Regions from separate parts of the Homo sapiens genome. Here regions 2, 3, 4, 5 and 6 are each linked to region 1. The links are contacts of gene promoters, found by promoter capture Hi-C in blood cells and fetal thymus (Javierre and others, 2016). All regions are on one chromosome and are shown on one strand. Each heading gives the region's core, a stretch centred on a gene start or on the middle of the fragment in contact. The rest is flanking DNA. Distances are from core to core; before and after follow the strand shown.

Region 1 (4,938 bases), core at 1,576-4,075:
TGGGGGAGAGGGGCGGAAACAGGTGTAGGCTGTGCTACTCAGAAGGGTTGTGGAAGAAGCAGCCTGAGGTCGCATCTATTGCCCCCTCCTCTCTATTGTCCTGGAGCCCTGGAGAGGGAGGCCAGCCATCTTCTCACAGGCCTCCTGCATGATGGGGGGGTGTATGTGTGCAAAATGCAGGGAAGCCTGAAGATTCCTACACACACACACACACACACACACACACACACACACACACTGAAATGTGAGTGCAGCCCCAGCCTGGAAGAGGGCAGGCTCAGTCAAGAATACAGCGATGTCACCAAGGGCAAGGCGGTAACCCCTCCATAGTGTACAACCTTGTTTGTTTGTTTGTTTTGAGATGGAATCTCACTCTGTCACCCAGGCTGAAGTGTAGTGGTGCAATCTCAGCTCACTGCAACCTTCACCACCCGGGTTCAAGTAATTCTCCTGCCTCAGCCTCCCGATTAGCTGGGATTACAGGCGCCCACCACCACGCCTGGCTAATTTTTTTGTATTTTTAGTAGAGACGGGGTTTCACCATGTTGGCCAGGTTGGTTTCGAACTCCTGACCTCAAGTGATCCGCCCGCCTCGGCCTCCCAAGGTGCTGGGATCACAGGCCTGAGCCACCGCGCCCAGCCCATAGTGTACAACCTTTACAGTTTTCAAAGTGCTTCCTCATCTGTTGCCTCATTCGATCTCTGCACCTACACCGTGAGACAGGCACGGCAGGGGTTACTCTCTCCATTTCACAGGCCAAAGGCTAATCTTCTCTACTGGCCCTTTCTGGTTGAATTGCATCTTTCTAGAGGTGGGGCTGGGCTGGGGCTGGACCCTGGAAAAATCTTCAGGAATTACCTCCTTAGGATGAGACCATCCCTGCTCTGCACCTTCCCCACCTCCTAACCCCCAGCTCCTCCCAGCTCCATCGAAAAGCTTTGGCCTCATCTTGGGACACTTAACCAGGCCTATTATATGCAAGGTATCCCAGGCAGCTGCTGCCCTCCCTCCACCCATCCCCATTTTCCTCTATCCCTCTGCCCTAAGATTCACAGATACCAGGAATCCAGAGTTATTCAGCAGCCCACCAGGGAGCCTCTCTAGCATGCAAATTTACTGAGCGTGCTTTGAAATTCAGCACAAAAGTGAATGAGATTCAAAGGAGTTCATAGTCTGGGGAGGGGAGTTGGCAGAGCAGACGTGTAAGCAAATGATGACATCAGTACAACAAGAAGGGCTGGGTGGGGGAGACTTCTAATTGTGCGGGGGCCCAGGAGCAGCTGCTATTCTGCTGTCTTTCCAGGAGTTTGGCAAATCCAGGAGAGAGGACCAAGTGGAAAGGGCTGGAGGAAAGAAAAAACCCAGTGCATCAAGTTCCCTGGAACTAGGCCAGAGCTTGGGGTGAAGAGCAAAAAGAGGCACACTGGGAGAAGTGGCTAAAGAGTGGGTTGGGTTGGATTCTGGATGGCTTTGTTACTCTTCTAAGAAGTCTAGACTCTTCAATAAAGCATATATATATGCATATATAAATGATATATGAATATATGTGTATATGTGTGTGACTATGTAGAAACACACGTACACATATACACTGGTATCAGGTAAAATGCTGTTTTTAGATGCTGGAGAACTAACACATACAAGAGAAAAAAAACAGGTCATGATAAAGTCATCCTATTTACTCGAACTGCTCGCGTATAAGTATTATGCAGTACAAAGAATATTATGCTCATTTTTCTATGTGCCAGGTTGTCTTTTCTTTTTTTAATTTTTTTGACACGCAGTCTCGCTTTGTCACACAGGCTGGAGTGCAGTGGTGCCATCTCAGCTCACTGCAACCTCTCCCTCCCGGGTTCAAGCGATTCTCTTGCCTCAGCTTCCCGAGCAGCTGGTATTACAGACACCTGCCACCACGCCTGGATAATTTTTGTATTTTTAGTAGAGACGAGGTTTCACCATGTCGTCCAGGCTGGTCTCGAACTCCTGACCTCAGGTGATCCGCCTGCGTTGGCCTCCCAAAGTGCTAGGATTACAGGCGTGAGCCACCGCGCCCGGCCCAGATTGTTTGTTTTATTTGATTACACAATGAATTCTCTTCTTGAAGTTTGCCTTTCTTCTCTTTTTCCTGTCCCTTTCTTTTTACTGTATCAATAGTTGTCTGACCCAAACCTCAACAAGTAGAAGGAATTTTGGACTGAAATGTTTCCGTTCACTAAGTCTCAATTGCGTTCTTGGAAAGGTGCTGGCACAGCTGAGGGACACCCCAGCTGTTAGTTGAGTTTGTGAATTGCAGATCCTGCCCCAGAGTCAGTGAAATTTCTTTTTCCCTTATACTATCTCAACTTTACGCAGCCAACCCTGTGTACCCAATAATAGCTCAATTTAGTGGCATCCGCTAAAGTCTTGTATAGAGAAGTTTTCCCTCTGGATTTCCCCTTTACTGAAGAAAAATGGGGAGACCCAGACAAGGGTCCCGGGACTACGCTTCCCAGCCGCCTCCGCCCGGCGCCCAGTCCAACTTCCCTTACAGGGATGGCCCCTGGCATCTTGGCCCCGCCCATCCCCAGCACCATATTGCGAACTACAATTCCCAGCTGCCTCCATGCGTCGGACCCTTCAAAATGGGCTTCCCAGCAGCCTCTCGGGCGAAGAGCCCCGCCCTTCGGAGCTGCTCCCCAGGTCGACCCGGCGCACTCTTCCTGCCCCCTGCCCCGTCACGTGATGCAGTCCCGCCAACCGGCACGGGGAGGCGGGCAGCGGGCGGTGGCCGGGGGCGGGCAGGCCGTGGGGGGCGGACCCCAGAGGGGGCGGAGCAGGGCCCGGCAGCCGAGCAGCCTGGCAACGGCGGTGGCGCCCGGAGCCCGAGGTGGGTGCGCGCTCACGGCTGGCCTGGCTCGGAGCCGGGCACTGCGGGGACCCGTGGTGAGGGGATCGGGAGGAGGAAGTTGGGACTCCTTGGGCCAGCGGGTCGCGCGGGGCCTTGCCGCACCGTCAGGGTTGGGTGGGGGTTTCGTCCAAGCGCCGTCGCTGTCCCCGCGGGGCAGGGCTGAGGCCAGGGAGCAGCAGGCAGGTACCTCCGGCTTCCTCCCGTTCTCCCCGCCCAAGGTGGCCGGCCGGCGGCGGGCGAAGGTCGGGACGGGGGTAGGGGTTGGCTGGCCGTGGAGCTGGGGGCGGACGTCTCAGCCACTGCCTGGACTTTGCTTCCCCGTCCCGGGGCGGTGAGTGGGCCGGGCGTCCGCCCTGCCTCCCCGGCGACGCTCCGCGGCTGGTCCTCGCCTTGGCCCTCCGCACGGAGCGGGCGTCCGTCGCATCCCCGGTGGGCCCTGCGGAGCGGCCGCAGCCCGGCACTGGCCGCGAAGCCTCGATGGCCGCTCTCGGCCAGTGTTTCTGTGTCATACACGAGAGGTTTATCTGCTTTTGCAACAGTTGAGGGAAGATCTTAGAGGGAACGGTTAGTTCCCTGATACGCAGTCGGAAGTATGTACAGGCACGAGCAAGCGCCCGTGGCCGGGTTGCCTCCCTTAACTGTCTTTTGCTGCGCTCAGGAAGTGAAAACTAATTTTAGTATTTGCCTAAGCAAGTAAGAAGTGAATCTGCTGCAAAAATTATATTAGAGCTTTATAGACGCACGCATCGTTTGAGGCGAAGTGGGTTGCGACTGGTTTTGAAACAGATACACCAGATCTTCACAAGAATAAAATTATAGCATTTTAGAATTGACTGGCATCCTGAAGTTTACATTGTTCATTTGTTTCCTGGATGGGGGAACTGAGGCCCAGAGAGGGTAACTAATATGTCCCGGGCTTCAGGGCAACTTAATGGCAAAGCTAATATCACAAGCCAGCTCTTTGGGGGTATCTTGGTGTCTGTCTAGTCTGGATTCTTTTTACCACAGCTCAGTATTATTCCTTGTGAAATAAGCACCTTAGAGTCTTGAGACTGAGCCAGCAATTTTGCTAGACTGCAAACCATTTTGAATTTCCTTCAAAATCGGTTTACCAACCAAATAAGACAATCAGGCCTGTTACTTTGCAGACACGTTTGCCTTCATCCAACATATATATTGGGCACGATCATGTATTCACCAGATTTGATTCTGAATGGCTTTTGGCTGCTTCACAAAATCAAATCTACTTTTCAGAGATTCCACACCATGGGGGAGATTTGAACCAGTGGTGCTGCCTGCAGCACCAGTGTATAGTACCCTCCCGGGTGCTTGAGGGTGGATAACATTCACGGGGGGCTTGTAGATTCTAGTGTAGTTAGTAAATGATTGGTCTCTTTAACTTAAAGTTCTAACTACATTTATTAAGTTGTCGATGGTTTCATTCATTCATCAAACACAAGAATGCCAACGGTGGGCACTGGGAAGACAGCAAAGAGCCCCACTGCTGAGGTCCCTGCCTTATAGAGTTTATATGTGGGGAGGCACACAATAAAAAAATAAACAATGATATATTTTCTGGCAGAGATGAGCGCTATGAGAAAAAATAGAGCTCTGAAACCTTACAATGACAGTGAAACAGGCTGGCATGATTGAGAATGACTTGGGCATTACTTTGAATTTCTAGTTTTAGATTGCCAGCTGCTGCTCCAGTAAAGGAAATAAATCCAAAAGTAAATCTCTGAATCAAAGAGATTTTTTGGAGTCATCATTTCTCCAATGAGTGTCTTTTAGATGGTAAGCTCATCCCAGCCTCATTTTTACTCACATTTCCCCCCACCCCGACATGCAAACAGTAAGTGATTTCAAATACCTAGAGAGGTATTTTTCAAATCCTTTGCTGTTTTCATAGTTAGATAGCTGACTGTAGCTACAGAAAGCTCTGCTGAGGTCAATATTGGTTGTTGATTTCATGCCGGTGTCTGCTGGACTCTCAGGCTACCTTGCACAAGGGTTTCTCTTCCTGTGCAATGGTTTGTACTGTGAACCTCTT
Region 2 (4,938 bases), core at 1,218-3,717, 940 kb before region 1:
TATGGATACAAAACAGTTGTGCCTATTTATGGGGTACACGTGATACTGTGATGCAAGCATACAATGTGTAATGATCAAATCAGAGTAACTGGGATATCCATCACCTCAAGCACTGATCACTTACTTGTGTTAGGCACATTTCAATTCCACTCTTTTAGTTATTTGCAAATATACATTATTAACTATATTTGCCCTCTTGTGCTACCAAACACTAGATTTATTATTTCTATCTAACTGTATTATTGTACCCATTGCTCATCCCCTCTTTATCCTCCCCTCTCCAATTCCAGCAGACTGGAACACACAGAATACTTTCTATAAATCGTGGTGGGTAGGGTGCTGCAGAGACAGGAGAAAGGGTACTGGGGGGAATAAGCCAGAAGTTGGCTGTGGTAACATGGTAGGGGAATGTGAATATCAAGGTAAAGTCCTTGGAATTTATTAATAGGTAATATGGGGCCACTGCAGATTTTCTCAACAAGAGTGACAGAAGATACATATGAGTGTGTAAGGTAGATTGTAATCAGTAGAGACCAGAGGTAGACATTTTATACAATTCATAAAAACACTGACAAAAAATGGATCATTTTCAATACTGATTTGTTAAGCAGTTTAGTAGAGTTACTAAAATACAATTGAAACATAAAAATACCTGGGCAGCTGCCAAAACAAAACTCAAGAGAAAATGTGTTCATTTAAAATGTTTAAGTAAAAGTAGAAAACAAAGAAAAAAAAAAAGAGGCAAAAGAAAACTAGTAAACTGAGTTTCTAAGAAATTTGGGGAAAAAGCCAAAACATGAAAATAATAAAACTAAAAGTAGAAATATAGATATAAAAATGAAACTGATCAGTAATCCCAACAGCTAGCTTTTTAAAAAAATTAAACTACAAAGTTGATCAAGTAAAACAAAGTAATACAATCAGTAAGTTCAAAAGATGTAATTCATACACACTCCTAGTTGGGGAAAGAAAGAATAGTATCTTAACTATATCAATATATTTGCAAGCAAAGTCTAAAAGGTGACTGCATAGCCAAAAGGAAATATCAAGCCTGATTTGCAAAAGAATACACAATAATATGCAATAATACAGTGATAAGAAAATGTATTTACAAAAATAACTTATGGTCATAGCCTAAACTACTTTGAGTTACTTTTCAAGAAACATTCAGACCAGATTCCAAGTATAAAAATAGACTGCTTAATTCTCCACAAACCTGGGAGAAATGGGAGGTTCTGGTTTAACATTAATCACTACTTCTTAAAATTCACTTTTCCAGTTACACCTTTAGAATGGATTTATTCCACTCTCATTTGAATCTGTAGTGTTAGTATACGATGAATCACTAAGTAGTGCTACCTGGGCCAAAGCTAGTATCCTCTCTGAAATTTACATGGAGCTTTCTGCTCAGGCTCAAATTCCCTCTCTCCACTTTGCAGGGTTGGGAGAATAGGGAGGGAGAAAAGGAAGAAGGGAGGGAGAGAGAGAATATACTTAGCAAAGGAATGATGACTCTGAATGTAAAAGTTCTAGTATCTGTTTTCTGCATATCATAAGAATGCAGCTGGACTCTTTTTAGACCTATCAGTTTTTTTCCAGTGGAAGCTGCTGGCTTCACTGGAGCACATACACGCGCATTAACACATGCCTGCATGCACGTACACACGCACAAGCACATACACACACACAAACTTTGGATGGCACATCCCAGTCTAAAGCTTGACAGAATGGCTCCAAATGACAACCTGACATACTCACAAACTATCAAGGGAACTGCCCCTCTTACACCTTATTAACCAAATTTAAAGTCTTTTAGTGGAGACTTTAGCTGGTTTTATTAAGATAAAAAATGTTTAAGAGCATTTAACCAGTAGATACAAAAAAGCACAAAAGCCAAATAAAAGCAGAGCCCAGGCCAGTAGGAAGATCTGCATTTAAGTTCCTCAACTGCCATTCATCAGCGGTGTGGTCTTGGGTGAGTTATTTTCCCCCAGGTCTGTCTCCTCATCTGATTCCTCATATACTGATTCATTAAGACAAGGGTATGTGAAAGCACTGTGTAAATGATACATTTTACCCATTCTAGCTTTAGCAGTATTATGAAAGACAAAAGTTCTGCCACATTGTAGGTAATAATCTCATTTAGCAATCATTGTTGTCACTATTAGGTTGGAGCTGACAAAGTATGAGTCTCCACTTATAAAGCATCTATCTCCAGAGTTCGAGGCTTTTGTCTTAAATTCCAGTCATCTTGTACAGGCATGACATATCAGGCAAAATGATTAGAAAACTCAAGCTCCATATTAAAAAGCTTAACTTCTGGAGTCCTAGGAAACTATCTAAAACTCCTTCAATCCACGGTCTCTCCTGTACAACAAAGACTTCCCAGTGGTAGATGTCTATTTGTACCCAACATCCACTCATTCAGCACGTAATTCAGCACCTCCAAATCCTGGCCCTCAAAGAACACAGCTAAGAACAATGTGTGTGTAATTATCAAGTAATAGGAATGATACTTTTAAAACTGGAAATTATACATTCAAATGAGATTTCTCTCCTTTAACCAGTCCCCTTGGGAGGCAATGCAGTAATTCCAATGGTACTTCATTACTCAAATCATCTTTGAAGCTTTCTTCTTGGAAGCACCTTGAGAACCTGCAGTCTGATCTTCTGACTATCCCAAATGGTGCTAAATTTTCACTGAGGGTGGATTCAAATTTTGGAAATGGCAAACAGTCAGTCAGAGCCAAGGTTAGTGAATAAGATGTGTGATCAAACTAGGTGGAACTATTTTGGTTGAAAATGATAGATGATCATAAAGCAATGAGATGGATCTTCTTATGTGATATGTAAACTGACTTTAAAGGGAATTCCAGATGAGTAACAAGGAGTATGAACAATGGAATAGGTGTATACATTCTCTTTCCCCAAGTAACCTCTTTGAATAACAACACTCATTTGGATGTATAAGCGCCACTAACAGGTTTGTTTTGTTTAATCACTTACAATTTGTAAATAGAGGGTTCCTTAGCATACTGGATCTACAATGTCATGGAGGAAAGGAGTTGTCACTTAACTAGAACTATGGCATGGCACGCAGGAAAGAGCACAGGCTTCATGAGACTGACGTGGATTCGAATGTTGACTTAGATTCTTCCTGCCTATGCAACTTCAGGGAAGTCACAAGCTGTCAAGACTTTAAAATAAGGCTGATACCTAATTTTGCAGGGTTGTTGTAAAGATCATGGATAATGGATGCAAAGCCCCTACATTGGGCCTGGCATGTGGTGGGTACTCAAGAAGTCACAGCTATTATTAACAGCAACATCAGTAAAATCAAGACCATTTTCTGACTGTAGGTGGCTTGAGAGGACAGAACAACAGATAAGCAGTCACTTGAGTGGTAAGTAGTTCATTGACAGTACTGACAGTACACTCGTGCATTAGATACTGCTTTCTTAAAAACAATAACCTGTAAAAACTATTTGCAGTAACTATGTATTTTTAATTCATACGACACATATCATCTGCAGTGCTCATACCACATGGACCTCTTCACTACCTGAACATACCAGGCACTATCATGACCCCATGCCTTTGTGTACTTTGTCCCTTCTGAGATACTGAAAGGGGCCAGCCCCTCCACACCTGTGGGTATTTCTCGTCAGGTGGGACGAGACTGAGAAAAGAAATAAGACACAGAAACAAAGTATAGAGAAAGAACAGTGGGCCCAGGGGACCGGCACTCAGCATACGGAGGACCCGCACCAGCGCTAGCCTCTGAGTTACCTCAGTATTTACTGATCATTATTTTTACTATCTTAGCGAGGGGAGTGTAGCAGGGCAACAGGTGGGGAGAAGGTCAGCAGGGAAACGTGAGCAAAGGAATCTGTATCATGAATAAGTTCAAGGAAAGGTACTGTGCCTGGATGTGCACGCAGGCTAGATTTATGTTTCTCTTTACCCAAACAACTCAGTGTAGCAAAGAGTAACAGAGCAGTATTGCTGCCAGCATACTTCGCCTCCAGCCACAGGGTGGTTTTCTCCTATCTCAGAATAGAACGAATGGGAATGGTCAGCTTTACACAGAGACATTCCATTCCCAGGGATGAGCAGGAGACAGAAGCCTTCCTCTTATCTCAACTGCAAAGAGGCCCCGCTCTTTCACTACTCCTCCTCAGCACAGACACTTTACGGGTGTCGGGCTGGGGGGTGGTAAGGTCTTTCCTTTCCCACAAGGCCATATCTCAGGCTGTCTCAGTGGGGGGAAACCTTGGACAATACCCAGGCTTTCTTGGGCAGATGTCCCTGCGGCCTTCCGCAGTGCACTGTGTCCCTGGTTAATCGAGAATGGAGAATGGCGATGACTTTTACCAAGCATACTGCCTGCAAACATATTGTTAACAAGGTACATCCTGCACAGCCCTAAATCCATTAAACCTTGATTCATTACAGCACAGGTTTCTGTGAGCACAGGGTTGGGACTAAAGTTACAGGTTAACAGCATCTCAAAGCAGAAACAATTTTTCTTAGTACAGATCAAAATGGAGTTTCTTATGTCTTCCTTTTCTACATAGACACAGTAACAATCTGATCTCTCTCTCTCTTCCTCACAAGGTACCCTTCCTACTCTCTGGTCTGATGACAACCCTACAATTCTAGCTCAAAAGTCTGGCTCAAAAGACTAGCTCAATTCAAAATCTAGCTCAAAAGTCATTTCCACTATAGACTCTTCCCTGCCTGCTCGAGACAGAATTAGTAGCTCTGCCATTTGTACTTCTAAGACATTTGGTTTCTTTCACTGTAATGCCTCATACTCTATTGAATTCTTATTTCCCTTTCATTTCTGCTTCTTCCACTAGGCTTACGCATTGAGAGGAGGACTATATTCCTTTATTTTTGTACTTAGAGCACCTAGTACATCACTTGGCACGAGAT
Region 3 (4,938 bases), core at 1,747-4,246, 700 kb before region 1:
TAAGTAAGTGTGATTCATTACGTAAACAGAATCTAAAACAAAAACCACATGATGATCTCAATAGATGAAGAAAAGAGTTTCTATAAAATTCAACATTCCTTCTTGTTAAAAACCCAAAAAAAACCAGGCTTTGAAGGAATATACTTCCAAATAATGACAGCAATCTGTGACGAGCTTGCAGCCAACATCATACTGAATGGGCAAAAGCTGGAAGCATTTTCCATGAGAAATAGAAAAAGACAAGGATGACCACTCTCACCACTCGTATTCAGCATAGTAATGGAAGTCCTAGCCAGAGAAATCAAGCAAGAGGATCATATAAAAGGCATCAAAATAGGAAGAGAGAAAATCAAACTACCTCTGTTTGTAGACAATTTGATTCTATAACTAGAAAACCCATAGTCTCTGCCCAAAAACTTCTAGTTCTGATAAACAACTTCTACAATGTCTCAGGATACACAACGTACGATAATCAGTAACATCTCTATACACCAACAACATCCAAGAAGAGAGCCAAATCAAGAATGCAATCTCATTCACAACAGCCACAAAAAAAGAATGAAATATCTAGGAATACAGCTAACCAGAGTGATGAAACATTTCTACAAGAATTATAAAACATTGGTCAAAGAAATGAGAGATAACACAAACAAATGGAAAATATTCCACGTTCAAGGAGAGTAAGAATCAATATTGTTGAAATGACCATACTGCCCAAAGTAATTTAGAGACTCAATGCTATTCCTATCAAACTGCCAATGACATTTCTCTCACAATTAGAAAAAAAATCTATTTTTAAAATTCATATGGAACCAAAAACAGCCCAAATAGCCAGGGCAATCTGAAGCAAAAAGAGCAAAGTTTGAAGCGTCACACTGCCTGAATTCAAACTGCACTACAAGGCTACAATAACCAAGAAACCATGGTACTGGTACAAAAAACAGACATATAAACCAATGGAACAGGTTAGAGAACCCATAAATAAAACCACACACCTACAATCACCTGATCTTTGACAAAGTCAACAAAAATAAGCAGGGGGGAAAGGACTACCCATTCAACAAATGGTGCTGGGATTACTGGCTAGCCATATGTAGAAGATTGAAACTGGACCACTTCATTACATCATATTCAAAAAACAACTCAAGATGGATTAGAAACTTAAACCTAAAACCTAAAACTATAAAAACCCTGGAAGAGAACCAAGAAAATACCATTTTAGACCTAGGCCCTGGCAAGGATTTCACAATGATGCCAAAAGCAATTGCAACACAAACAAAAATTGACAAATAGGACCTAATTAAACTGAAGAGCATCTGCACAGCAAAAGAAACTATTAAGAGAATAAACAGACAATCTACAGAATGGGATAAAATATTTGCAAACTATGCATTTCACAAAGGTCTAATATTCAGAATCTATAAGGAACTTAAACAAATTTACAAGCAAAACAACAACTCAATTAAAACATGAGCAGAGGCCAGGCACGGTGGCTCATGCATGTAATTCCAGCACTTTGGGAGGCTGAGGCAGGCAAATCACAAGGTCAGGAGTTCGAGACCAGCCTGGCCAATATGGTGAAACCCTGCTTCTACTAAAAACACAAAAAAAATTAGCCAGGCGTGGTGGTGTATGCTTGTAATCCCAGCTACTTGGGAGGCTGAGACAGGAGAATTGCTTGAACCTGGGAGGTGGAGGTTGCAGTGAGCCGAGATTGCGCCACTGCACTCCAGCCAAGGCGACAGAGTGAGACTCTGTTCCCCGACCCCACCCCCCAAAAAAAAAGTGAGCAAAGGACATGAACAGACACTTTTCAAAAGAAGACATACACGTGGCCAACAAACATATGAAAAAATTTTCCACATCACCAACTATTAGAGAAATACAAATCAAAACCACAATGAGATACGATCTCAAACCAGTCAGAATGGCTACTACTAAAAAGTGAAGAAAATAACAGACACTGGTGAGGTTGCAGAGGAAAGGGAATTCTTATACACTGCTGGTGAGAATGTATGTTAGTTCTGCCACTGTGAAAAACCCAGTTGTGATTTCTGAAAGAACTTAAGGCAGAATTACCATTAAACCCAGCAATCCCATTATTGGGTATATACCCAAAGGAATCGTTCTATCATAAAGACACATGCATGCATATATTCATTGCAGCACTATTCACAAAAGCAAAGATATAGGATCACCTACATGTCCATCAGCAATAGATTGGAAAAAGAAAATGTGGTACATATACACCATGGAATACTACACAGCCATAAAAAGAGATCATGTCCTTTGCAGCACCATGGATGGAGCTGGAGGCCATTATTCTAAGTGAACTAACACAGGAACAGAAAACCAAATACCACATGTTCTCAGTTATAAGTGGGAGGTAATCATGGAGTCCACATGGACACAAAGAAGGGAACACAGACACAAGAGCCTATTTGAAGTTGGAGGGTGGGAGGAGGGTGAGGATTGAAAAACCATCTATCATGTACTATGCTTATTACCTGGATGAGGCGTGCACCAAACCCCCATGACACACAATGTACCTGTATAACAAACCTGCACAAGTACCCCTGAACCTAACATAAAAGTTAAAAAGGTATGACTTCTTATGAAGTCACACTTGAAATAAAACTTATTGACTTACTGAAGTCTTATTGAAATAAGACTATCACAATGACACCCTTACCCCTCTTAATTTTTTCTTACTTATGCTTACCTCATTCACTTGTCAGGATAATACCTGTACAACTGATTCTTGAATAAAGTGAGGGCTGGAGGCACTGACTCCCAATGCAGTCAAAAATCTACATATAACATACTACTCCCCAGAAACATAACTACTAATAGCTTACGGCTGACTGGAAACCGTAAGAATTAACACATATTTTTTTCTGTTTAATGCATTATGTACTATACTCTTACAATAAAGAAAGCTAGAGAAGAGAAAGGGTTATTAAGAAAATCCTATGTAAGACAAAACATATTTACTATTCATTAAGTGAAAGTGGATCATCATAAGGGTTTTGCATTTATATATTTTACGTATTTGTATATTTTAGTAAAATATATTTACTATTTATTAAGTGAAGTGGGTCATGATAAGGGTTTTTGTCCTCATCATCCACACTTTCAGTAGGCTGTGGAAGAGAAGGAAGAGGAGTGGTTATTCTCACAGTCTCAGGAATGGCATGAGCAGAAGAAAGTTCATGTATAACTGGACCGACACATTTCAAACCTACGTTGTTCAAGGGTCAAAAGTAGTTAGAATTTTACAATGATTAGATTCCATAAAAAGTTGGATATGCCATGCCAAACCCATATTTTTACATGACCTAAGAGAATTTTTAATCCACCCAGTAGCTAGCTTTATCAACATCCTTGATGCAATTGTTTATCCAAACTTTACTAGTAATCCCTTTTATAGAGTCAGACTTCCAGACCCACTTGACCTCACTCTCTGCTTTAATTTAGCCCTGTGATAGGATAGTAGATCATAGAACTGCAACCTTCTAGCTCAAAACGGAGGGATCTCTGCAGTTGCTAACACTTTCAGTTGCATGTGGATAAATAGGACAAACAGGCTGCTTGGTTAAAACAAGTAGATTCCTCATCTGGCTCATTCTTTGATCTGTTCAATTTCAGTTGGTTTAATTCATGGGAAGCCTGCCTAAGGGGCTGTTTTTAAAATTCCCAGCCAAACTGAGGTTCCAGTACCAGAGTAGCTGGTAAGGTTTCCATAACTGGAAATGAAGGGGAGCTTAAGGTAGGTGTTTCCAGTATGCCTTTCACAGGATAATTCTTGTGCCTAGTTGTCCAACCATTGATTAGGTAGCCCCTCATGTGGGAAATTTGTTTATAATGGCAGATGTCACTGTGGTTCTTGTCTAATCTGTGTTTCGTTTATGCCTGCCTGACCACCGTTCTGTCACATGGACCCTGATCTTGTGTTCCCCACAACATCCCAGGTAAAGCCTGGCCTTGGTTAGACACAGGATATTCAAATGGAAGGCAAAAATTCAAATTACCACCATGACAGGAAATAAGTTCAAAGATTTATTACTTACAGATCCTGGTCAGAGAGGGTTCAAAGAGTTGGGAGGACGGTTCTCTATTCCCTAATGATATGAGGCAGGAATGAAGAAGCAAAGAATCAGGCACAGAGAGAGGGAAGGGAGAGAGACAGAGACAGAGAGAGAGAGAGAGAGAGAGAGAGAGAGAGAGCAGTATAAATATAGAAAAATAGGACATGGGTCATGTTAAGTTCACAGGCAAATGCCTGAATGGTACTTTTAAAGTAAAAGATATGGAGGGAAAAACAGGGGAAGCCCAGTCTTTTAGGTGGGAGAGACACCTCTAAATTTTTATCTCTGACCAGAGGCTTGAGACATTTGGGTGTGATGTTCTACTTCAATTGGCTAGGCAGCAACCTTTGCTCTGTCATTCCCATTGCAAGAGCATACTCCAAACTCTTGGCATTATCCTCCTGACAGTCATAAGAGTGGTCTCCCTAGTTCACTGCATCCTCTCGAAAAGGCTTAGAAATCTCCATGCAGCCATCTGCTGAAGGCTAAATGGCCTCTCTCCAGCTGGAATGATGAAAGCTCCAAGAAACACATGACAACAAGGACACTGTAATATACAAATGGCATGTTAACACCAAAAATCCAAAACTGATGGTAACTGAGTGTAGCACTCATGCCCTCTGATTTGGCCACACTCTCACCCTGGCCAAAATGGGGGGATTGTGAAACAAAGTTAATGGGAGGCCATTGTGTCAGACCAGCCTCCTTTACTAGGCCCCAGAAGAACAAATCGGAATGGAGTCATTCATGCTAATTGTCATGAAATCAAATTGAACTTTCAAATGGGCCAGTTAAAAATAATTCGGAAAATTCCAATCCCGGTGTGTGATGTCCCCCTTCCTGTGTCCAT
Region 4 (4,938 bases), core at 1,035-3,534, 600 kb before region 1:
TTTCAGAGAACAAAGAGAGTGTTTGGGTTTTATAGCAAAAGTTTCTGCCTGAGTTCCTAATCAGGTTTATTTATGCAAATGAAATATTGAAATGGGCTTAGTTCTAGTTGGTTGATGCAGCTAAGTTCTGATTGGTAAATACAGCTAAGCCCTAATTGGTTGGTATAGGTGAGCTCTGAAAGTCCCAAAGTTAAAGAGAGGTGGGAGTTTTTGGGAAACTCAGAGTGACCTTTAGTCAGCAAATGGCTGCCTGGCTGTATTTTAAATTTAGGCCCAGTTAGCCACTTGGGATCCATCTTGAAGGATTGACTCTTTTAGGTTCATATTTGTTCACATGTGGCTTTCTTCCTCTGATACCTTGGTGAGCCTAATGGAGACTAAAAGCTTAGTTAACTTTGGCTTTAGGGAATGAAATTATTTCTGGCTGAGACACTAAGTAGAAGCTAAAATTGCAGAAATATCTTTATAATACTATGTGAGAGTTTACAAAAACTCTCACATACATTATTCAATTTATTAAATCTTCACACAAGCTAGTGCCTGTCCCTTAGTAATCACATGTTTAGTGTATGAATGAACATGGAGGTTTTTGTTTTATTTTGCTTTGTAGAGAGACAGGGTGTCTCTCACTCTTGCCCAGGCAGGAGTGCAGTGGTGCGATCATAGCTCACTGCAGCCTTGAACTTCTGGGCTCAAGTGATCCTAATGCTTCAGCCTCCCAAGTAGCTAGGACTAAAGGCATGCACCATCACTAATGCCTGGCTGTTTTTTTTTTTGTAGAGACAGGGTTTCCCGGGCATGTCTTGAACTCCTGGCCTCAAGTGGTCATCCTGCCTCAGCCTCTCAAAGTGCTGGGATCATAGGCATGAGCCACCACACCTGGCCAAACGTGGGGATTTATTGTGCCTATTTTACAGTTTGGCGAACTGAGGTCTAAGCAGCTGAATTGAGTTTCCTAAAATTCAACTCTACAGTTAGCCAAGTATGGAGCCTACACTTGAAATTAGATCCATTTCAGGTGAACATTTACTAAGCATCTACTAAGTGACAGGTACTTATCAGTGATGAATAAACATGTTCCTTGGTTTTGAGAGCTTATAGGCTTGTCAGAATATGAGCAAATAATTTCAACACAATATGCTAAGTGTCATGATAGAGAACTTTGTGTGATGCCGTGGAGTCATACGGAGGGGCACCTAATCCAGTCTGATAATGTTGTGAAAGACTACCTGAAGAAGTGACACCTCAGTTAAGTTTTGAAGGTTCATTGGAGATTGGCCAAGGGTAAAGATATTCTAGGCTGAGAGATCAGCCCCAGTCAGGGCACAGAGGTGCAAACCAGTATGGTATGTTTTTAGGATTGCTGGAGTATTCCTTGCCAAGGGGAAAATGGCAGAAATGATGACTTAGAGAGGTAGGTGAGATTCAGATCATTGAGTACGTAGACTTTGCTTTGTACACCATTAGTTACTACACATTGCTGAATTATTGAAATCATCTGGGGAACAGGCATTTTCTTAGTTAGCTAGATTTGAGAGTCACATGTGGAGGCAATGAGTGACATAGACTGCCCTGTTGCATCACTCTGGTGACAGTCTACATGGAGGCAGGTAGATTTGAAAGGGATGCTACTAGACGCCTAGAGACCATTTTGAAGGTCACTGAATTCATCTAAGAGATATGGTGGACTGTATAAGGCAGTAGCAGTGAGGACAGAGAGGAAGAGGCAGATGCAAAATGGTGAAACTCTTACGATGTTGTGGGGAGGATTGGTGAGGGAGAGAAAAGTGTCTAAGGTAATTCTCCAGGTTTCTGGCATGGCTGTCTGAGTAGATGGTGGTATTTTTGACCAAGTTCAGGAATGAACAGTGGAGATAGAATGTACAAAAAAATTGGATAAATTCAGCTTGGAACCTGCTGAATTTGAGGTACTGTGGGACTTCCAGAGGGGAGAGCAGCTATTTTGTTCTGGAACTCAGGATGTGTCTAGGCTGGAAATACAGGTCAAGGCCTCTATGTCTGGGCAGTTTAAACCCAAGTGAATAGTAAGACATCTCTCAGAGAGAATGTGTGGAGAGTGCATCTTCAATAATTCTACCCCCTTTCGACTTCAAAGGCTGTTCCCATGGGGAAGCAGAAGCAGCGTATTTCTCTCTCTCTCTTTTTAATGTTTGAGGCAACAAGGGATACTGAAAATGCTATAAAAGGTGGAGTTAGAAAACCTGAGTTCAAGCCCTGCTTCTGACACTTCACCACTCTGCAACCGTCAGTAGTTCCTGAGCCTCTCTTAGCCTCCAGGTCTTCATCTGTGAAACAAGGGTAGTAGGAATAACTGCTTCACAGGATTATTAAGATAGTCCAATGAGAATGTGTATGTGGAAAGTGCTGTGTAAAGAACCATAGAAACATCATTTTTGTTGTTGTTGTTGTTTGTTTGTTTGTTTTGTTTTTTTCCCCTAGAAACTTGGACCAATATGTAGGAATTACGGGGAGACAGATTTGGTCCAATATAAGGAAAGACTAATACTTTGACTGTTGGATGATGGGAAGAGCTTTGGGAGATGGGAAGCTCTGAGGCTCTGGATATCCTTAAGCAAAAGCCAGGTTTCTGGGCATATGCTGAGCGTTTTGTTGTCAGGGGTTGGGTCATCCTGCATGACCTCTGAGTTACCTTTCAGGCTCAGATAGAATTTGAGTTACTAGAACACTTATCTACCTATTTTCTGAAATTTTCTACACTAAGTAGATTTTTTAAATTGTAAAAGCAATACAAGCGCATGGTCTTTCCCTTTGACTCTCTTAAAGTACTGGGCATTTTGGATCCTAAGTGGAGACTTGGTTTATATACCCTGAATAATGGGGCAAACTGCCTCATGTCTTACTGCATGAGGCATTTATGGACAGACATTTTCTTAATGTTCTTTAATGAGATCTCTTTAAAATAATAATTTTTTTCTTATTTTCAAGCAGAAATGATATTATAAAAAGCTAACAAAATATTGCCAAGTAGAGGTCTTGATCGAGTATACTCCAATGAGTAGGTAAAGGTCATTTGAAATCAGCACACTAATTATTTATATGCAAATGAATTTGTTAGAGAGCTTGGAAAGAGTTGTTCTCTGAACTGGGTTAAACATCCCCTAAGAGCTCATGTTTATACTCTTAATTTACTCAGAAACCTGTTGTTGCTCTTTCTTTTTTTTTTTTTAATTATACTTTAAGTTTTAGGGTACATGTGCACATTGTGCAGGTTAGTTACATATGTATACATGTGCCATGCTGGTGCGCTGCACCCACTAACTCGTCATCTAGCATTAGGTATATCTCCCAATGCTATCCCTCCCCCCTCCCCCAACCCCACCACAGTCCCCAGAGTGTGATATTCCCCTTCCTGTGTCCATGTGATCTCATTGTTCAATTCCCACCTATGAGTGAGAATATGCGGTGTTTGGTTTTTTGTTCTTGCGATAGTTTACTGAGAATGATGGTTTCCAATTTCATCCATGTCCCTACAAAGGACATGAACTCATCATTTCTTATGGCTGCATAGTATTCCATGGTGTATATGTGCCACATTTTCTTAATCCAGTCTATCATTGTTGGACATTTGGGTTGGTTCCAAGTCTTTGCTATTGTGAATAATGCCTCAATAAACATACGTGTGCATGTGTCTTTATAGCAGCATGATTTATAGTCATTTGGGTATATACCCAGTAATGGGATGGCTGGGTCAAATGGTAGACATTTATGCAGCCAAAAAACACATGAAAAAATGCTCATCATCACTGGCCATCAGAGAAATGCAAATCAAAACCACTATGAGATATCATCTCACACCAGTTAGAATGGCAATCATTAAAAAGTCAGGAAACAACAGGTGCTGGAGAGGATGTGGAGAAATAGGAACACTTTTACACTGTTGGTGGGACTGTAAACTAGTTCAACCATTGTGGAAGTCAGTGTGGCGATTCCTCAGGGATCTAGAACTAGAAATACCATTTGACCTAGCTCTTTCTTTAATTGATAGAGGAAAGGTGAAATATGCCAGCCATGACTGAGTTATCACAAATTTAGAAATGGCATGAATTGAATTTATACTTTCCTGTGTTTATTTTATTGCCAATCACTGATGTGACACACATTTGCTAAACAAGTTCTAATTTTCTGGGTAACTTTCCCTACAGAAAGCTTATTTCGCTAAATGAAAGATCTCTACTCATGCCATTTAATGAGGAATTATCTTTATGATTGTTGAGGTGTCTTCCTGGCTCTTTGAAAAAAATCACAAAAACAATAGCCCCAAATAATAGTGATTTTATACCTAGAAAATATTCTACAAGGAATAAGTTGCTGTAAACCATATAGAGGTGAACAATTTTGAAAAGTCAAGAATTTAGGAAAGTACATTCAGTCTTAATTATGGTAGAATAAAATTTCATCTTCCTGATGCTTCCATAGGCCCTTCAAGATGTTTGCAAAGCCCTTGGTCAGCTTTTGATTATTTTTTCATTGTACTGTATCTATGAAAAAGGTTGCCATTGGGAAAGCATAAGTAGGTTGTGTTTTGCAATTCCTTCTTGTGGAAGGAAATTGATAGAACCTTCTAGTTGATTTTTTGAAAAAGTAAAGATGTTTAAATACTCTTGCCTTCCCTACCTTACTCCACACTTCTGGTTCTCATCTACAAGAACTAGTGCACCAAGGGAGAGAGTACTCCAGCTGTGGCGTCCTGGACTTTGAATCCTGGGATGAGGGGGCAGGTAGGGTAGAGGATTCAAGAACAGAGGAATTATGGAGGGATGGAAGCTGGGAGGGAGGAAGAAAGAGTAAGAATCTAAAAATGAACCAAGGGAGGAGCCAAAGAGTGTTGGTCTTGAGCCAGATCACAGGCAGTTGGGTCAGGGTTAGAGGTAACAGTTGTAAGGAACAAGTCTAAGC
Region 5 (4,938 bases), core at 1,021-3,520, 580 kb before region 1:
ATGACTATACTTAATCTGAAAAGAGGCCTGGAAGTACAACCCTACCATGTGCCTGGGAAAAGATGCTCTGGAATATTTGTGAACAGCCCTAATGATGACCATACAGCCTCTCCATTTTCTTTCCTCCATTACTCCAGTATAAGTAAATCATGTATTTTTTCAAAATTGGTATTCAGTGTTTGTTATTATAGCTTTGCATTTATGTCCAGTGCCAAGCCAAGCAATGCATTATGCTTTCACTTCCTTTTTTGAATAATATTTTATTTTCCCCAGAGTCAATAATTGCCTAATTTCTTATTTGCTTAGTTTTCTTTTTACTCATTTCTTATTTTCTGCACAACATTCATCAGATTTATCAAGTAGTCCTCAGTATTATTTTTTGAACACTGAAATATATCAGATAACCTACCAATTTTATTTTTTCTTGGAGTCTTCCAGCCTCCCGCTTCAGCCTTGGCTCTCTGGGCCTTCTGTACAGGAATCATCCTCCCTTTGCCAGTTTCCTGTATTAGGACCCTAGTTTTTGGGTCTTTTGTCTCCTTTTTAAAAATTATTTGCTTACTTGTTTTGCTGGAGCACGTGCTTTAATAGCTTCCTAAATAAAGGTTTATGACAAATTATATTAGTCAGCTTTTTAGTAGGCTATGCCGTGGTGCAAATGATTCCAAAATCCCAATGGCTTATACAAGATTTCTTTCTTACTGGTATCCTATGTCTTTCATGGGTTAGCAGTAGTTCTAGCCAGGTCTTTTTCACTCTGGCACCTAGGTTAAGGGAGCAGCCCCTCTCTAGGAGAAGCAGTTCTCATGGCAGAGGAAAAATAGCACTGATTGAATCAGTGTTGGCTGTCAAAGCTGCTGCTCTGAAGTGGTACACATCACTTCTGTTCACATGTCATTGGAAAATCAAGTCTTATGGCCAAGCTTGATGTCAATAAGCCTGGAAAATAAAAATAATCCTTCCACAGGTAAAATTATATTTTTGCCAAAGGAAATAAATAGCTGTGTTGCGTATAAAATTATGAATTGGTTTTTCGCAGAATTTTGAAGGCATTGCTCCATTGTCTCCTCGTTTTCAGTGTTGTTATTTAAAAGGCTGATGCCAATCTAGTTCTGGTATAAGAGTCTTCCGTATAAGCATTGTTTTTTTCCTTTGCTCTGAAACCTTTTAGGTTCTTTTTTTTTTTAGCCCTTATAATTCAGACATGTTTTGACAGTGTGACTTGGTATAGATCTTTATGCATTCATTTTACTGATCCTTCCTTAGGAGCTTTAAATGTGGAAATTTATGTCCTTATTTTTCTTACATTATGACTTTGATAATTTTCTCCCCTTCGTTTTTTCTTTCTGAAATTTCAATTATTTGGATATTAGACCTCCCATATTGTTCCTCTGCTTTTCTTGTCTTTTCCTCTCTTGGTCTTTATGTTCTTCTTTTTGGGAGATTTTCTTATTTTAATCCTTTTACTTTTTTGCAGTTTGATTATCATATTTTCAGTGTCCTTAAATTCCTTTGTTTTCTGTGTCTTCCTTTTTGTAGTATCCTGCTTATGCTTATGGATATAAATTTTCTCTTATCTCTGAGGATATTAATTATAGTTTTAAGTTTTCTTCTGTTATTGTATCATCTCTGTTTTCTCTGTTTGTTTGTTTTGACTTCTCTCATATTGGAAGAGTTCCTCAAATGTTTTGTGATCCTTGGCTGTCTATTCATATTGAAGAGTGGAACTCTCTTGTTTCCTGGGGGCAAAGGGAGAGGATAAAATAGTTATCTAGGTAGCTGCATGCTGAAAAGTATATATGGGAGCCTGCTGCTCCCTATACAGAGTTTTAATTCCTGTTTTCCTGTGTCTTATCCCAATTTCTGTGGTACTTGGTATTTCTAAACCCTTAAGCCTTCCCAGGATTCAATGGGGACTAATTGTTTCACTTTTCATTGGCATGTCTTTCTGCAAGCACTTAGGTTCTAACTTGCTTTTCCTTTACTCTCTGAAATAAATATTCGTTCTTCCCATCATTTCCTGTCTTCGAAACATTTATGGATAATTCTTGTCCACTAATGTCTCCTTCCCTGTTTTCTTAGTCTGCGTGGACTTAACACCTCTTTCTCTCTGTCTTTCTCTTCTCTCTCTCTCTCTCTCTCTCACACACACACACACACACACACACACACTTTTTATTTGCATTGTTTTAATTCCATTAATGAGACTTCGGGAGGGAGAGAGATAATCATGTGTTATCAGTCTGCCATGTTTAACCAGAAGTCAAGCTGTGGTAGAATTTTTTAAATGTAGTTTTCTTTACCTCATGCTAAACTGAGCATGGCCTTAAAATCTACCCCTGTTCTTTGAAATAAAACTAGCCTTATACTTGGATAGATGACATGCTTTCACCACCAAATTTTAAAGACAAAACTTGAATGTTGATGGAAATTAAAATGTGTTTAGCACTTTCTGACACTATGCATGGTAAATAAATAAATGAATGAATCAGTGAAAAGAAAGGAAAGTCACCATAATGGATACTCTTGAGTTTCCCACTCCAGCTGCACTCTCTACCCTTCCTTACCCTGCTCTGGGCCCCTGGAGACTGACTTCTATGGGCTGCATCAACCAGGCTCCCTTGTCCTCTGGCTTCCAGTTAGGTTTGACAATGCAACGTATCAGTGGGGGAGGGAGAAAGGATCAGAGGGTTGAGAGGAAAGCCAGATCTCAGTATTTACTTCTCCAGCTTCTTCTCTGCCAGGTCACATTTGGCAGTGGCTGTGTTCCACTATTTCATGCCATAGCTTGTGTTGGGTTGTCCCTCTCTGACAGCCTCAGCTTTTACCAGGTTCTGGTAACCATTACTCTCCTTCTCACTTCAGGTCGAGAGATGGTAGTGGTTTCTTCCTGCTACTGATCCAGGACCAATGCACCTTACCTTATAGGTTCCCTTAACCCTGCCCCTACCTTCAGTTACACCTTTTGAATGTGCTGTGTTTCCTGCCAAGACCCTGCTTGATACAAATGTTATGGTAGCACTGTCTCATTATCATCCATGTATTCTTGAACAACATACTCCACATCATGGGCCTCAGTTTCCATATCTGAAAAGTACTAAGGTGGCGATAGGTGGTCTGGTCTGTCATGTAAGAACTCCTTCCTGTTCTGACATCTCTGGTTTTATATGATGCAGCAGTGGTCAGTAGCCAGCTCTAGCTCTAAGTTCTCTTTTATAGACTTTGTGGACCATTGTGGATAATTCTGAGTGGTGGATGATCACAAAACAATTTCTTCCTGTCTTTGGGAGGCAGTTTGCTGGAGCAAAAGGATTATAGACTTTGGAGTCAGACCAGGGTTCAAATTTGAGTGTACTACTTTCTTACTATATGACCTTTAATCCATTACTAAACCTCTCTAAGTCTCACATTCTTCATCTTAAGATTAGGGTATATGATGGACACTGCTAGTTATCTATCCTAGCCGTTTTCTTTTCCCTTGCTAAAAGAATACTATTTTCCATTACATATGTAGCTGAACATTTAGTTGGATGTTTTGATAAATGCAGTTTGCATAGACATAACTAGTATTTACTACCATCTGATTCTCTCCTTCTGAAAGCATGAAAGACTAATTTCCAAGCTTCCTATAGTTAGGTGGGATCATATGATTAGGTCTGGCCAATGAGCTGTGAGGGAAAATTACCTGTGACACTTTGGGGCTGAAGTAGAAAAAAGCAAGTGTGCAATCTCTGTGTGCTCTCTTACCCCTGCTGAGGCAATGGGGAACAATCTCCATGGTGGAACTTCCATCAATCAAGGGTCCCTAAGTGACTATATGGAACATAGACACTCATAAACTTGCAGGCAACATGTAGCATGAGTGAGAAGTAAACCATTGTTGTGTTAGGCCATTGGGGTTTTGTGGTTGATTTGTCAGCTAATCCACAGCTGAAAAGCATCCCTACAGTTATAGGACATTATCTTTCTTGTAGGGTTGTATGGAACAGACTTTCTAGATTTGATTCCTAGCTCTGTTATCTATTAACTTGTACGTCCTTGGTCAAGTTACTTAACCTTTCTGTGCCTTGGTTTCCTCATCTGTAGAATGAGATTAATAATACCTTTTCCTCATGAGGTCAGTGTGGGTACTAAGGAAATTAATATACAGGAAGCACTTAAAACAAGGCCTGGCAGGTAGCAAGTGCTATGCAGCATTTTCTGTCAGAGATCATGTATTTCAGAGTGTCAAATACAGTGTCTGGCTCTCACCAACAACTTAATGCTTTATTACCTTTATTGCTGTCATAAGGGTTAGAATGATCCATGTAAAGTCTTCACATATGGTGGCCACTTAACACAATGGCACTATTATTTGATGACTGATTTTTGTGCTTAATTCTGGATATATGCCCCTCATTTTTTAGTTCTCTTAATCATTGCCCTCTAAGATTTCCTTCACAACATGGGAGGTAGTTAAGTGTATGGATTTCCAAGAGTAGTTCTGAATACGAAGTTAAGAAGATGTTGAAATGGCAGCAAAGCCTTAATTTAACAGGGAAGGCATTCATCAAAAGTGTTGTTATCCATAAGTTTGAAACCAAGGCGACCCACAGAGAAGCTACACTTGTGAAAATGAGCCTTGGATAATGAGTATTTCATTATATTTGCCATTTAGAGCCCTTACACACTGTCTGTCCATGCTCTTCATTTTGCAGATGAGAAAACTTAAGCCTAGAGAAGGGAAATGAATAGTCTAGGATAACACAGTCAGTTAACAGCATAAGCAGAACTAGAGCCCAAGTACACTGATTCTTGATCTGTATCTACATTTTGCATCTGTAAAGCTATACAATATTTCCTTCTAGTACTTGAATAAGAAAGTCATTGGCTTTTCATCTCAAAACTCTCAAAAGCTTAGCAGAAACTCAGAGATGTGGTTTCGGAGGAACCAGAGGA
Region 6 (4,938 bases), core at 1,575-4,074, 560 kb before region 1:
AAACCCAGTTCAAAGGAGAAGAGTAAATGACCTAAGTGAGCAGCAAAGGCAGACCATATTTGGACACTAATAATGGTGAATTTTATGTGTCAACTTGACTAGCTTATGGTGCCCAGTTGTTTGGTCAAATACTAGTCTAGATATTGCTGTTTAGGGATTTTTTTAGATGAGATTAACATTTAAATCAGCAAACTTTGAGTAAAGCATTACCCTCCATAATGTGGGTGGGCCTCATCCAATTCATTGAAAGCTTTGAGATTAAAAAAAAAAAATGTGGTTTCCCAAAGAAGAAAACATTTGGCCTCAAAACCGTAACATGGAAACCCTGCCTGAGTTTCTAGGCTGCTTGACCAGCCATGCAAATTTTGGATTCCAGACTGTAACATCACTTCTTACCCGGGTTTCTAGCCTGTCTGCATGTGCAGACTTACCATCTCCCACAATCATCTGAACTAGTTCCTTAAAATCTCTAACACCTGAAAGGAACAGGACTCCACAAAGACCAACCTCTCTGACAGTCCTGCTGAAATAGTAAAACGATCAAGCATAGAGTTTTTGTGCTAAACATTCCAGGGGTGCTTATTTATTGAGGAACAGTGTTTCTAATCTTCAAGAAATTTTATTCCCTGAGAAATTTCCCCATTTATTTTAATTTGCTTGTGCAGTCTTTTAAGTGGGTTATATTACTTTGTACATGGATCGCTTTGCTGTGCTTTTATATGAAAATCATTATTAGTAGTCAACATAAGATACAAAGTGTACTGCTTCTATAAAGCTTATCTTACAGCATATATATAGCCTGCTGAAAATATATTGCTCATTTGTTATTAAAAATCCTACCCAAGTAAAAAAAAAAAAAAATCTCTCTCTCTCCCTCTCTCTCTCTCTCCATACGCAGACACACACACACACCCCCATGCACGCACGCGTGCATGCACTATGGTTGGAATGTTGTTTGTCCCCTTCAAAATTCATGTTGAAATTTGATTGCCATTGTGACAATATTTAGGAAGTGGGGCCTTTGAGAGGTGATTGGATCGACAGGGCTCTGCCCTCATGAGTGGATTAATGCTGTTGAGTAGGAGTGAGTATGTTATAAAAGGGCAAGTTTGGCCCCCTTTTGCTCTCTCCCTCTCAGCTCTTTTGCTCTTCTGCCATGTGAGGAATAGTGTTTCTCCCTCTGGAGGATGTAGCATTCAAGAAGCCGTCTTGGAAGTGGAGACAGCTTTGACTCGATGCCAAATCAGCTGGTACCATGATCATGGACTTCCAGCTTCCAGAACTGTGGAAAACATATTTCTGTTGTTTATAAATTACCCAGTCTGTGGTATTCTGTCAGAACAGCACAAAATGAACTAAGACAATGTGTTTGTGTGTGTTTATGTGTGTGCATGCACATGTATGAGCGTGTGCATGTGTGTGAGTGTGTGTGTGTATCTCCTATTTGTTCTCTCTGGATAACCATGACTGAAACAGATATCATGAAGATAGCAATGCGGCTTTGAGCAGAGACAGTTGCAGGATTATGGAGAGCCTTGAGTGAGCTGTCATTATGAGTTCTTTTACCCCAATAGTCATAAAATATTGAGTAATATTTGAGTAATAATAATTAATTATTACTATGTCTACTAAGTGAGCATATATTGTGCCATAGAGGTTGGTTGGCATGATTTCTATTGACTCAGATTTCTGAGATGCTAATCCAGAGCCTGAGTGGAAGTCTCTCATCTTCCTGTCAGAGAAGCTTTACTCTCCTGAAGAGAGCACCAAAAGCTGGGTATCCTCCATCAGGGAATGGGGATCAGACTAGAAAAGGCCTCCAGCTCTGTCAGGTTAATACTGGGATCAAGAAGGACTTTTTATATTAATGGAGTCAATGCCATTGAAAGTTAGCATTCATTTAGTCCACTTCTTCATTGTATACATAGGGAGAGTGAACCTGAGAGAAGAGAAGCCACCTTTATAGGCCACACAGCAAGTTGGTGGCACAGCCAGGCCTCACACTCACATCTCCTGACAATAAGTAAGGTAGAGAAGAAAGGAGAAGGAAAGAGATAAAGGTTGTTTGCTAGAAGAGAAGTCTGGATTCCGGTTGTGCTTTTTCTATGAGCCATTTGGTGAGTAATTGTCCCAAAGTTTGGAAGTGTCCCAGTTTTCACAACTGGATAGAATGGAGGGAAAATAGAAAAGTTTGAAAAGTAAAGTGAAATAACATAGACAACATATTTATAAGGGCCCCTAACTGCTAAATTACAAAATTGAAAATGATCTATATAGTTTTCATTGATGAGTAAATCTGCTTTCTGGTGGACTTCTCTAGTGGCAACAAGGCTACTGCACTCAGTCTCACCACCTTGACCAAAGGCCAAGTTTGCCCTTGTTAAAATAAAGGTACACTGTGCTTGCTGTGGGGCCAGGCTTCCTTATTTCTCTCCTATATTTGTTCAGGAATTTGGTTCTGTCCCATGAGGATACTAAATTGCATTGATCAATGAAAATGGCATCTGTGCTTGTTTGTTTTAACTTGACTTTGATAGCTTCATCCATTAAACTTTCAATGAAGTTGTAATTTCTTTAAAAAAAAAAACCCTAAATTTAAAAACATGCTGGCAGTTCATAATTACCTTGGTATATATCAAGATGAATCAGTGAAGGTGACTCTCTTTCCTTTGCATTTAGTATTGTTGCTTTGTGCCTGTATTTTCTATTTAGGATTTATTAGTGTAAATCCCCCTTATACATCATTGAAAGCATTAGGATTTATGTAGTGTTAAATCCATATCAGGATTTATATGGAATTAAATCCAATCTAAGAGACAGGTGGATAACCTAGTGGGGTTTTGTACCCATAATTTCTACCGCTCTTTGTGGAAAAGCATTTCATTACAAACTTTCAGATTTGGGAAGGCAGTGTTCTGCAAATGGCACCTATTAGTACCAATGTGGAGCGTTTTACTGCACTTTCCATGTAGTCCCTGGGCTCCTCACTGAGAAGCATCCTCATGGCAAAGCATCTTTCATGGCCACGAGGAGGACATTAACCTCTTCTCTGCTCCTTCCCTGTTTGGAGCACAGCACAGCTTTGATTAACTCTTTAAAGAGCCTTCTGTTTACACCCTCTCACAGATCTGCAGACAGTATTTGCAAAGCACATTGCAATTTTTGACAGCAGGCACCACTGGGGTGGGGAAGATACTTGTCAGCTTTTTCCTTTGGTGACTTTCCTTCCATTTTTTTTTATCTTTTGAGGGAATGAAAACTGCTCCAAGTTGGTGCTTGCTATTCTCCTTTTTTATTTCTTTTCTCTTCTTTGTATATGCTTTTCCCCATCCCATATACCAACTGATGGGGTGATTGAGTGACTTTCATCCATTCAGTCAAGTATTTACTGAGTCCTACTTCATGCAAAGTACTGTACAATGTACTGAGTTTTTAGAGTTATTTCTTTCTGGGGTTGTTGTCCCTTTTTAAATTATAAAAATAATACATACTTATGGTAAAAATGCACAGTACAAAAGCATATAAAATGAAAAGAAGATCCTCTTCCACATCAAGCTCCTAGTTTCACTCCTTTGTATAACATCAATAACAATTTCTTACATATCCCTATAAAAATTTTCTATATGTATATAAGTGTGTATGTAATGTATACATTCATACATATATGTACATATAGGTAACATACACACATTTACTTATATATGCTTTCTTAGAAAACTCAGACTGGAGCATGGTAAACACAAGTTTTGTACATCCACTTCCATGTTGTATCAGGCCATTTGCTTTGCTATAAAGAAATACCTGAGGCTGGGTAATTTACAAAGAAAAGAGGTTTAATTGGCTCATGGCTCTACAGGTTGTACAGGAAGTTTGCTGCTGGCATCTGCTTCTGGTGAAGCCCTCAGAAAGCTTACAATCATGTGGAAAACGAAGGTGGAGCAGGCACATCATATGGTGAGAGAGAGAACAAGAGAGAGACGGAGAAGGTCCCAGTCTCTTAAAAAAACAGATCTCATGTGCACTCAAAGTGACAACTCACTTATCACCAAGGTGATGATGCTAAGCAGCTAAAGGGGCTGACCAGTCACCTCTCACCAGGTCCCACCTCCAACATTAGGAATCACATTTCAACATGAGATTTGGAGAGGACACACATTGAAACCATGTCACATGTGTATCTTTCCATGCTTTCCATGTCAGCACATGCAGTCTTGCTGACTCCCTTAAAGGCTACATGGTTGAAATGTAACTTTAGGAAAACCCTGAGGTTTTGATAAGTTTTGTATATAGGGCACTGAATTTGATTTTGAATGTGTAAATTCAGTGTTCATTTGCTGTCTTCAGGTTTCTTTTACTTTTTCTCTATATTGAGGGCACTACCCAGTTATGCATTCTGACACTTGAAGACTTCTGGTGGCTTGCAAATGCTCCATGGAGATGAAAATTAACTTGATTGGTTTTCCTTCCTGAGCACCATGTGTCCACTCTGGCCTTGGGCGACTCTCAAAGTGGGTTTCAAACCAGGCTTCAGAGTTTGTCCCAATACTTTCTAATAGTTTATTTTATCCTTTTCATAAGTTTTCTCCTACCGCTTCAGTCCATATTTTCTGGTCTGGCCTTATCAACTATAAAGTTCTTGTTTATTTGGAACTTGAGGTCAGTGACTTCTGACCTCACTAGCTTTCATTCTAGCTCACTCTTATTTAGGCATTTACTATATGCATAATTTCCTTTAATCCTCATGACAAACCCATGAGGGAGGTGCAGTAATTATCTCCAAAGTGACAGATGAGGCACAGGAAGGCTAAGGACATTGTCTACGGTCACACAGCTGGTAGATGGAAGAACTAGAATTTGAACCCAGGTTTATCTGACCCTAAAAAATATGCTTTTAATCAATATATATACTGCCTCCCTTAAATCAGTATTTCTAGCTTT

What was found. The method cuts DNA at HindIII sites, captures the fragments that hold promoters and counts their contacts. A CHiCAGO score of 5 or more calls a contact.
Region 2: a contact is called between a fragment that was not itself captured here and the fragment with the promoter of MTM1 in region 1, in 1 of 17 cell types (naive B cells). The highest score is 6.1, in naive B cells.
Region 3: a fragment that was not itself captured here is called in contact with the fragment with the promoter of MTM1 in region 1 in 1 of 17 cell types (erythroblasts); the score reaches 6.1 in erythroblasts.
Region 4: a contact is called between a fragment that was not itself captured here and the fragment with the promoter of MTM1 in region 1, in 15 of 17 cell types (M0 macrophages, M1 macrophages, M2 macrophages and 12 more). The highest score is 15.9, in M0 macrophages.
Region 5: a fragment that was not itself captured here is called in contact with the fragment with the promoter of MTM1 in region 1 in 4 of 17 cell types (naive B cells, M1 macrophages, M0 macrophages and 1 more); the score reaches 8.7 in naive B cells.
Region 6: a fragment that was not itself captured here is called in contact with the fragment with the promoter of MTM1 in region 1 in 1 of 17 cell types (M1 macrophages); the score reaches 6.3 in M1 macrophages.

Annotation. Positions count from the first base shown.
Region 1 is chrX:150,565,796-150,570,733 of GRCh38, forward strand. MTM1 (myotubularin 1) reads left to right here and starts at 2,826. Exons shown (of 15, transcript NM_000252.3): 1 at 2,826-2,867. RefSeq lists enhancers at 1-421, 422-1,343 and a silencer at 2,628-3,307. The HindIII fragment of the contact is 5,391 bases long and covers 936-4,938 here.
Region 2 is chrX:149,622,895-149,627,832 of GRCh38, forward strand. The region is part of intron 1 of TMEM185A (transmembrane protein 185A); the gene reads right to left. Among named protein-coding and RNA genes, the nearest start is that of TMEM185A, 6.4 kb to the right of the region's middle. The HindIII fragment of the contact is 317 bases long and covers 2,310-2,626 here.
Region 3 is chrX:149,862,341-149,867,278 of GRCh38, forward strand. All of the region lies in intron 2 of LINC00850 (long intergenic non-protein coding RNA 850), which reads left to right. Among named protein-coding and RNA genes, the nearest start is that of MAGEA8, 16 kb to the right of the region's middle. The HindIII fragment of the contact is 7,908 bases long and covers 1-4,938 here.
Region 4 is chrX:149,970,622-149,975,559 of GRCh38, forward strand. The region is part of intron 9 of EOLA2-DT (EOLA2 divergent transcript); the gene reads left to right. Among named protein-coding and RNA genes, the nearest start is that of EOLA2-DT, 35 kb to the left of the region's middle. The HindIII fragment of the contact is 3,804 bases long and covers 383-4,186 here.
Region 5 is chrX:149,987,595-149,992,532 of GRCh38, forward strand. The region is part of intron 9 of EOLA2-DT (EOLA2 divergent transcript); the gene reads left to right. Among named protein-coding and RNA genes, the nearest start is that of EOLA2-DT, 52 kb to the left of the region's middle. The HindIII fragment of the contact is 2,699 bases long and covers 922-3,620 here.
Region 6 is chrX:150,007,792-150,012,729 of GRCh38, forward strand. The region is part of intron 9 of EOLA2-DT (EOLA2 divergent transcript); the gene reads left to right. Among named protein-coding and RNA genes, the nearest start is that of EOLA2-DT, 72 kb to the left of the region's middle. The HindIII fragment of the contact is 2,165 bases long and covers 1,743-3,907 here.